Linked DNA regions of Homo sapiens: region 1 is linked to region 2. The links are contacts of gene promoters, found by promoter capture Hi-C in human tissues and cell types (Jung and others, 2019). All regions are on one chromosome and are shown on one strand. The core of a region is centred on a gene start or on the middle of the fragment in contact, and the rest is flanking DNA. Distances in the headings are between cores, read along the strand shown. Region 1 overlaps MMP26 (matrix metallopeptidase 26). Region 2 holds the start of MRGPRE (MAS related GPR family member E).

Evidence for each region. The method cuts DNA at HindIII sites, captures the fragments that hold promoters and counts their contacts. A contact is called where the count stands out against the background at its distance.
Region 1: a fragment that was not itself captured here is called in contact with the fragment with the promoter of MRGPRE in region 2 in 1 of the 25 tissues and cell types used here (sigmoid colon).

The regions. Positions count from the first base shown.
Region 1 is chr11:4,898,315-4,903,421 of GRCh38, reverse strand. All of the region lies in intron 2 of MMP26 (matrix metallopeptidase 26), which reads right to left. Among named protein-coding and RNA genes, the nearest start is that of OR51A7, 2.9 kb to the left of the region's middle. The HindIII fragment of the contact is 6,232 bases long and covers 1-5,080 here.
Region 2 is chr11:3,228,852-3,233,780 of GRCh38, reverse strand. MRGPRE (MAS related GPR family member E) reads left to right here and starts at 1,364. Exons shown (of 2, transcript NM_001039165.4): 1 at 1,364-1,640; 2 at 4,921-4,929. The HindIII fragment of the contact is 8,659 bases long and covers 1-4,929 here.

The sequences.
Region 1 (5,107 bases), core at 715-3,214, 1.7 Mb before region 2:
GCTTAATCATCCACAAAATGGAGATAGTAATCTATAAGTATCAAATATTTAGAAAAGCACTTTACAAACTATAAAATGGTTTACCAGTCATTCCACTTATTTGTATGATCCATTTTTGGCAAAATATTAACATTGAAATAGACATAGCCTGTCGTACTCTGTTAGATTTTTAAAGCAGTGTCTCAAAACTACATGCCTTCCACATTATATTGCATTCACTAGAACCGTCCGAGGAGTATCCTGCGTTTTATTCACATATTTCTATTTTATATGTCAGTTCCATCATGGTTTAAATTAAATAATAATTATTTAAGGCTATGAAACAATATAAAAATGTGAAGACAATTTAAGTAAAAATGTATAAAATAAGGATATATATATAACTGTTTTAAGTATTTCTTAAAGCATATTTCTAAGTTAAAAAGAAAAACTTTGGTTAAAATAATGGAAAGCCTTACATTAATAATAAAATAATTTTAATTAATACAATTTAATGGAATAATAATATAAAAGACACAACATGGCTCAAATACAAAATACATATATCTGTGAATAAGAAATGAATAGAAATTTAAAACAATGAGCAGGGATAAGCCCACTCATTGCTAGTTCCCATGTCTGGAGAAGACGATCAACTCCCATAAGATAAATGAGATTACATATTCTCCATGTTAAGTTATCTGAAGCAAATAGACTTATTAAATGTCATTGGGCTATTCTAGCAGATGCATTTGATACCCACCTTATTATCTTGGGACTTAACATTTTATTATAAGTTGCTAATTGGAAGAAAATATTTGCAAAAGACACAAGAATTCTTGAAACTCAATAAGAAAACAAACAACACAACTAAAAAGTGTGTCAAACAATAGCAAAGACATGAAACCAACCCAGGTGCCAACAGAAGGTTGGATAAAGAAAATGTGATACATGTACACCAGGGAATACTACACAGCCACAAAAAAAGAACAAAATCGTGTCCTCTGGAGCAACATGGATGCATCTGGAAGCCATTATCCTGAGCAAATTAACACAGCAACAGAAAACCAGATACTGTGTTCTTACTTGTAAGTGAGAAAAGATTCTAGAAAACAGATTGCCAATAAGAAATTCTAGAGTTGGATTCATCACTGTCTGCATCACAATAGGAACCACATCACTGGTTGCAGATGAAATGTTGATGGTCCCTGACATGCTGTAGCAAGTTATTGTTAAAATTTTCATCTGAAGTGAACTGTAATAGTACCCAGAGGAAAGGTAACTCACAAGATTTATTTATAAATAGAGCATTCTCTGTAAACTGGATTCTCTTACTGGCTACTTTTGTGTGTGTAACGAAAAGGGTCATGGAGGACTACTGTGGACTCCAATCTCAACCAAGTAGAAACATCAGTTTAAAGTTTTATGTCAGGTGCAGTGTTTTTACCAGGGAAGATTAAGATTAACCTGGATTCGATTATCAAGTATGTAGTATTTATGTGGCAAATATATTCTCTTCCATCTTCTATAATAAATCTATAATTTGAAAATACTTATTTTCTTTGGATATTTTGCATAATATTTTATTGACCCACTATATCAATGACAATATATTAATCAGGTAGACGAGCATGAAATGCAAGTATATTGGCATTCTTGTCAAAACACAGTGCTCTTTAGGTGGGAAAGGATAGAGATAAACACCCATACAAAAAAGTAGGAATCTTAAACATTAGAGAAGTTTTTAGGGATCCTGCGGTATAGGAAAAATTGCGACAGCCTCTCTCAGTTAATAGACAAACTAAAGCATTTTTTATCTTTTACCACCAAGAAGAAAGTACCACATGTAGTGACCTCCTGAAACCCCGGAGGCAGCATATGCCACACTTTGAGTGCTAATTCTACTCACATAACAGAAAGACGTATGCCCATGCTAAGACACAAGTAAGACCATCAAGCACAACTGAAAGAGCACAAAGAGGGGGCCGGGCATGGTGGCTCACACCTGTAATCCCAGCACTTTGGGAGGCCGAGGCAGGCGGATCACAAGGTCAGGAGATTGAGACCATCCCGGCAAACACTGTGAAACCCCGTCTCTACTAAAAATACAAAAAAATTAGCCAGGTGTGGTGGCAGGCACCTGTAGTCTCAGCTACTCAGGAGGCTGAGGCAGGAGAATGGCATGAACCCCGGGGGGCAGAGCTTGCAGTGAGCGGAGATCACGCCACTGCACTCCAGACTGGGCGACAGAGTGAGACTCCGTCTCAAAAAAAAAAAAAAAAAAAAAAAAAAAGCACAAAGAGGTGATGCGAAGTCCACTGATGTTAGTGCACTACTATTGCAATGTGGTGCACTTTCCCTAAGCTTACACTTGTAGCTACGTGGATGATCCCTTATGACCAGCTGGTGGGGGATGAAAGCCAAGTTAGTTCATAAATGAGTAAAGTTGGTATGCCAAAAATGAACTGTAGATGTGTTACTGATCCATTAAGGAGTGACTTTGAAAGATAGTACTTAGGAGAAATACATCCCACGGACAAATCAGCTGATGGACTCACTCATCCTCTTTGTATAAAAAAGAGGTGGTTCTATGTAAGAATACACAAAAATTCAACTTATTGTTAATGGTGGGTAACTTGGCTAATTGACCAGGCTGTTGGAAGGAGAAAGACTGGAATACTAGTGACAAAGAGGCAGAGGGATGAAGTGGCATGTGGATGGTTCTAGAAGTTAGAACAAAGTTTGAAGATCTTTATATAAAAGATCAATGTTCATCATAGTCTATACATAATGGAAAAGAACCTAAGCTATAAAGAACACTGAGTGGACCTGACAATTTATATCAGCTAGATTCTGATATAAGCAACCTCAGTGGTGGCATAATTGGCTCCTAATTGAAGTAGCTATAGTGGCAGGATGAAAACTGCATAAACACAAAGCATAGTTTCCCACTCAACAAGGCTGATAAAACTTCTCTTTCTACTAAATATTAACCTGGCAATGATAGAAAACAATGTTAACTGCCCAATGTAGCATCACTTCTTGAGTAGAAAATGGCCACTTAATGGAAGATTATTCTACCCCACAAAAGGCAGCAAATGAACTTGATAGAAATTGACACATATGATGGGTGTAGGTTTGTTTTATTTTCTTGAAGAGTCATAGCCAAACCTAGTATCTCAGGGCTTACAAAGGGTTTGATCCACCAGCATAGGACATTATGTTATATCACTTCATGAAAAGGGACACATTTTAGAATACTTGCAACAGTAGACACACAACCATGCTTGTATCATGGGCTACACCACTCAAAAGCTTCCAATCTGGTACAGAAATAGAACAGGTAGAGTTGAGTCTCCACCTTAGAGACGACATTAGTGAGGATGAGACAACATACCCCAGATGCGTCATGTACAACACACCAACAATCATTATACATAGCTTTGACTGCAATGATTAGAATAAATATATTTGGGAACAAAAGAGCTGAAATTAAGAGTAGTCCCACTTACCATCATTTTTGGTGACCTACTTGGAAAATTTGTGTTTCCTATTTCTGCAATTTATGTTCTGTTGAGCTAAAGGTCCTCATTTTCAGAGTGGGAGACATTGTGAGGATCTTTTAATTAATTTAAAAATAAAATAAATAAAATTTATGTTAAGCTCTTGCCTAATAACTTTGATCTTCTCTAAGCTCAAAAACAAGCTGGCAAGGAAAGAGGTCATTAGCCTGATGGGGTAATTAATTAATCCTTGATCATCAGGAAAAGATAGGGCTTCTAATAAACAATGAAGGAATGGAAGAATATGTTCAGTACCCAGATAGCTGACTGGTTGTCTCTTGGTACCATCCTGGCAAATTTTGATGATAAATTAGCAAGTGAAATAGCCTTAGCCTGAAAAGGTCATTCTATAGAGACATTTTTACCCTTTGAAAAAAGGATCTGGTTGCTCTACCATGAAAGAAACCTATGCAATAAATGTTGTAGTCTTTACTAAAGAAGAATTTAGAATGGATTATAGAGATGGCAGATGATAAGATCAGTTGAGGTTTCAAGAACAGCTTAAGTGATGTATGTTGTAGTTCGTTCACAAACTTTTCATGATCGTGTCTTCTTCTTGGGCAAATAGACAACACAAACATGAGAAGAGCTATTCCCAAATGAAGCAGTTGAATTTGAGTAATACAAGAGTAGACTGCAATAAATTATGCAGTGAATTTCTCTGTCAGCCTTTCTTCGGAACTAAGACATCAGCTCCCAGATTCCTGAATTTGGGGCTGCTATGGGAATACAGATAAGTCCTTTCCTGGAATTATTCTAATCAAAATGAACTTGTCTCATCCAGTTTATAACCCTTGTTGGTGAGCAGGCCACATTCAGTTACTGGTTAATGCAAGGGTACAGAGACTTTGCTTCAATTTAGGATAATCCTGAAGGGTTGTTCCAGTTCCAGATTTTTCTGTAGCACTGACAGAGGCCTCAATTGCTACTGCCTTGACTGTCAAATTATCTTTCTAACTAATAAAGCTTCCTTCACATTCTTACAGTTGTTTTTCTTGAAAGAACACACACACACACACACACACACACACACACACACACACACACAGAGAGAGAGAGAGAGAGAGAGATTTCTTAAATTTCTAATAAACTCTAATTTAAAGAGTAGATCCAGTGACTCCTGGAATAGATAGGTTTGGATTTCTTCATATGGAGGAGGTAAGTAAATGTCCCCTATATATTAAAAAACATACCTATGGACACTTTTGAGGAAGATAAATAATGCTAACAATAAAAATATTCTTTTAACATTATTTTTGTTACTATAACCCAGAGATTCAACATTCCTCATTAGAACGTGGAAAGATATTAAATACATTAATCCCCATAGAAACAATGAGAAAGTCCTGAAAAGAACAATTTTCTGCAGGACAGTAAAAGAATAGTAGGTACAAGAAAGACTTAAACTGAAACTCAGAGGAATGAGCCCTTTATGTTTGAGAAGAGAGCCACAGCAAACAACCCCAAACAGGATAAACACAAAGAAATTAACACATAGACACATTATAGTCAAATCCTGAAAACCAAAGAAAAAGAGAGAAATAATAAAATAAGAGGGGAAAAAG
Region 2 (4,929 bases), core at 115-2,614:
TGGAAGAGTGGGACAATTGGAAGGAGTGGGACAAATGGAAGAGTGGGACAATTGGAAGGAGTGGGACAATTGGAAGAGTGGGACAATTGGAAGGAGTGGGACAAATGGAAGAGTGGGACAAATGGAAGAGTGGGACAGTTGGAAGGAGTGGGACAATTGGAAGGGTCGGGCATTTGGAAGGGTGGGACAGCTTTAAGGTGTAAGACAAGTGGAAGGCATGGAACTTATGAAAGGGTGGGATGGACAATTGAAAGGAGTGGCACTATTGGAACTGTGGGACAACTGGAGGGAGTGTGGCACTTAGAAGGGTGAGATATTTGGAACGTGTGGGGCGATTGGGAGCACTTCCCCCACACCCCTGGGCCATCCTTGAGTGACCACCCACTGGTAGGGCCTCCCAGAGCGGTGGCAGAGCCCAGGCATGGTTTACAGAGCCTCGGGCACCTGGCAGCTCGGATCCTGGTTTAGGAAGGGAGGATTTGAAGCTGAGACACAACTCAGCAAGCGGCACTGCTGCCTGTCAGATACCAGCCCCGCATGGACGTCAGACACCAGCGCGACACATTCATCAGACACCAGCATTGCACAGACGCCAGACGACCTGTGTGCGGCCCCTCCGTTTTGGGGATGGAGGATGCCGGTGCCCTGGGGGATGCCTGCTGATGTAGTGACAGGTCAAAGGCCACGTGCGGGAAACTTGCTCTCACTTGGTCCGCAAGAGGAGAGGTCAGGCGGACTGCGCAGAGTGGGAAACGCTCCGGAGCAAATCCGTGCTGTTTCTGCACTCTTCTCTACCTCGGAGATTTTTCTAAAGACAAAGATGAGAAAAGAGTTGCTAGGGCCTGGACTCGGGGAGGAACAGAGGCCAAAAAATGACCTTGTTTTCCTTCTCTTGGCACGTCAATTGCGATCTCCCTTAAGGCAGGGCACTGGAAGGAAAGGCACGGTCTGAAACGGGACTTGAAATCACTGAGTTCACGAGGTCTCCCGGAGCCTGACGCTGCTGTATGTGTTTGATTCTCCTCGGCCGGGGACCGCGCGGCAGCTTCTTGACACCGGCCATCTACTCTGTGCCTGCGAACGAGGCAGGAGGGACGGCCTCACGCACATCCCCGCTCCTCCCCGCGGTCCCACACTGCCTGGAGAGCTGGGGCCGGCAGCCTGTGCTCTGCGGAGAGAAAAACACATTTTTGCTGCAAGGACAAGTTCCGCCGGTAGCCCGGCTCTCAGCCGGCCCCTCCGAGGCACAGATGGAAAGAAGTGGTCCCTAAAGGGCCCTACAGGGCTTGGTGTCTCTGAGCCAGGAGTGCCAGTGAAGTCACAGCTTGGCTGGGCTCCACCCAGAGATCTCGTGGTTTCCTCTGCCTGCCAGGCCTGCCTGGAAGGCTGCAGGGAGGTTCAGGGTTTCTCTTGCTGTCCACACCTGGGCGAGAGCTGAGCGGAAGAGAAGGGGTCCTCAGAGAGACACCTTCCTGACCGGCCCCATTCCAGCTGGATGCCATGTGACTCGGAGGAGCTGGTGGACACTGAACAGGAGCCGCCCAGAGGCTCTGGGGACTGGAGCCCTCGGCCGCGGCCAGGATAGATCCAAGGCCCAGGGTCAGAGCAGGCAGGGCTCGGCCAGTCCTCTGCCCCAAACGGTGAGTAGCGCAGGTGGCTGGATCAGGGTGGGTCTCTGGGGCCGGCCCAGGCGCTCGGCATTTTCTGGGCTCTTTTGCTGGCCAGATGGTGGCAGGGGTGGGGCGTGGGCAACAGCAGATGCTATCAACAGGGAGCTCTCCAGGCTGCAGCCTCCGCCCTCTGACGGGCCGCACCACCTGGTCCGCAGCCAGCCCTGGGCTGAGTCTGGAAGAGGACGATAGCTTGGGTGATGGCTCCCCAACCCCCCACCCCCGGTGGCTCTGTCTCCTGTCTGCCTTGCTTCCTCCATGATCTAGAGTGTTCCCTGCAGGTGCAGACTCTCAAGGGGAGTCATGGGGGCAGCCGGGGATAGGCCCTCTCCTCCCTGCCACACCTGGGTGCTCAGCCTCAGGGCTTCTCAGTATTGGCTGTCTGGGCGGGACACAGAGCCACTCCTGGACCACCCAGGGATGGGGAATGCTGTGCCTCCCTCCTCTTCTGTTCCATCGTCCTTCCCCGCCTCCTCCCCTCCTTCTCCTCCCCCTCCTCCTCCTCCCTCCTGTTCTCTTCCATCGTCCTCCCCCGCCTCCTCCCCTCCTTCTCCTCCCTCTCCTCTTCCTCCTGCTCACCAAGGATGCAACAAACTCCTCTACTCCCCACAGTCCTGTAACCCAACTGTGGCGACCCTTCCTACAGAGCTCTGCCTCCCTCCCGAGCCCCCAGTGGGGCACATGGTCCCACAGGGAGACCTCCTCCAGGGTCACAGCAGAGAGGGGGCAGCAGCAGGGTCTGGCTGAGCTCCGTGGCTCTAACCCCTTGTCCCCCTGTTCTCCTCCCTGTTTCCTTCTCTGTCCCCCATCTCTTCATGCCTCTCCCCTTCCTGCACTCTCCCCTCTCCCTCTATGTCCATCGCTTCCCTGCCATGCTCTCTCCCTGGGGCCCACCCATGAGGCCCGTGTCCTCCTCAGCCATGCAGGAGGTGAGATAGGAGAGGGACCATGGCCCTTGGTGGGCCACAGGCTGGAGAAACCCCACCTGTTGCTTTGGGGCTGGAGCTTGCTGGTAGATCCCGGAGATAGCTCCGTCCATGGGTGGACGGGACTTGTGCCTGGGAGGGGGTCCACCATCAACAGACTTAAGACCTCCCAAAACTCATCTCTGCCTCCCTCTGGGCCTGAGGGTTGGTGACCCCCCCAAGCTATCCTGAGTAGGAGAGCATCTGTCCCCCTCCCCACATCTCCCCACCTGCCATGGCAGTGATGCCCCGTCTGCCCCACTCAGGGTGTCCTCCTGATGATGCTGGCCCAGGTGGGGCTCCCTCCACCACCACCTCACCTCCCACCCATGGTCTGCCTTCCCGGGGCCTTGGGTGCTAGGATGGAGCACAGGGACAGGAGGAAGAGCCCTATATCTCCAACCAGGCTTGACTCCACCCGCAGGAGATTCAGACTGGACCACGGGCAGGACTCAGCTTCCTGAGGTGCTGGGACTGGGGCCTCCTCTCCACTGAGCCCCCCACCCCCATGCCCACCCCTGAGGCGGGGACAACCTCAGGCTGTCATTTCACCCCAGTCAAACAAAAGACCACAGAGCTGAGGGTGTAAGCCGAGGGAGATGACCAGCACCTCACGGGGTGGCTGGCACCTCTGTGCTCAGCGATAGCCCCGCCCCGGGCCACCTCTCCCCAGCATCCCAGCACCGCAGCGTCCCCCTGCATGGTCTCGGGTGCTCCTATCACTGGAGGGAGACAGCAGGGGTTCTGAGCACAACCTTGAGGTGGGAAGAAGCCGCTAAGACCAGCTATGGGGGTTTCTGCTTGTACCCCCACCCTCCTCACCCCAAACCCCAGCCCTCCCAGGACACAGGAGGACCAGCCACCACCAAGGTGGGAGGGGCACCTGGTGTCGGCCCCTGACCCCAGCCAGTCTCTGGGGAGAGGCAAGGCCCCATCCCCTCTCCCCCAACCCCAAGAGGAGAAGCTGGGGTCACCAAGCACTCAGAGACACATGACGGGCCAGGTAACCACAGGGGCAGCATGGGGCCGGGTATCTGCAGGCATGTCTCCGGCTCTGAGCACCTGGCAGTCTCCTAGAGTCTATTACTTGCTGTATTTCTGGCAAAGCTGTGATGAAGACTCCGATTCCAGCCTAGGTCCCCTGGGATTTGTGCTGCCTCCCAGGACTCAGTACCCCTCCCGCAGGACCTGTCCCCGTGAGCCGACTGCCTTGGGAGGGGATGGAGGGAGGCTGGAGACGCCATGGAAGCTCAGGGCCCCTCCCAGCCCCATCATCAGACAGCTCCCTCTTCTCCCCATGGGGAAAGGGCGGGCAACGTTGAGCAGGATGCAGCCTCCTCATGTGCCCCCTACCCTGCAGAGGGCTGGAGTCCTGCTGTAGGACAGCAGGGACATGGCCAGGGGAAAGGGAGTTTTCCTGTGGCCCTGATGTGGCTGCATGGTGTGACCAAGCTGGAGGGCTGGGGACTGGGAGCCCACTGGCAAACAACCCCTCATGGATGTCAAGGAAAGGCCTCAAAGAGTTGAGGGCTGCTTTAAGATGATGACGAAAAGCCCCACAGCCACTGTAAGCTGTCCCTCTGTGGTCACACCACTCATTAGACATGGGCGGTGCCTCCTGCTCTGCCTATGACTTTAAAATAAGTCATATTTTATTCTTTGGGAGTCCAAGGCAGGCGGATCACGAGGTCAGGAGTTCGAGACCAGCCTGGCCAATATGGTGAAACCCTGTCTCTACTAAAAATGCAATAAATTAGCTGGGCATGGTGATGCACGCCTGTAATCCCAGCTCTTCGGGAGGCTGAGACAGGAGAATCACTTGAACCCGGGAGGCAGAGGTTGCAGTGAGCCGAGATGGTGCCATTGCACTCTAGCCTGGGGCAACAGAGCCAGACTCCATCTCCAAAAAAAAAAAAAAAAAAAAAAAAAAAAAGCCCATTCTGAGGATCAAGGCACCACTAGCAACAGGGAGCCCCATGGGTCTCAGACCCTCTCCCCACATCTCCTGGTCCCTGCCCCCACCTGGCCTACAGGGACCAGCCCCACGGAAGGCTCTTGAGGCCAGGTAACCATGGGGAGGGGAGGAATGGGGACACCTTCCTCCTGAGTGTCTTAGGGAAGAGAAGCTTAGGTCAGGTGGCTGAGGGTGGAAATGAGAGAGGGGTCTTCTCCTGGAGGGTCTCACCATTCCCTTGGTCACCCACCCAACTCTCATCTCCCCTGATGTGGGGAGGAGCAGGGGGCATGGATTCCTGAGCCCCAGACTCAACTGTTGTGGTTTACAGGGGCATCAG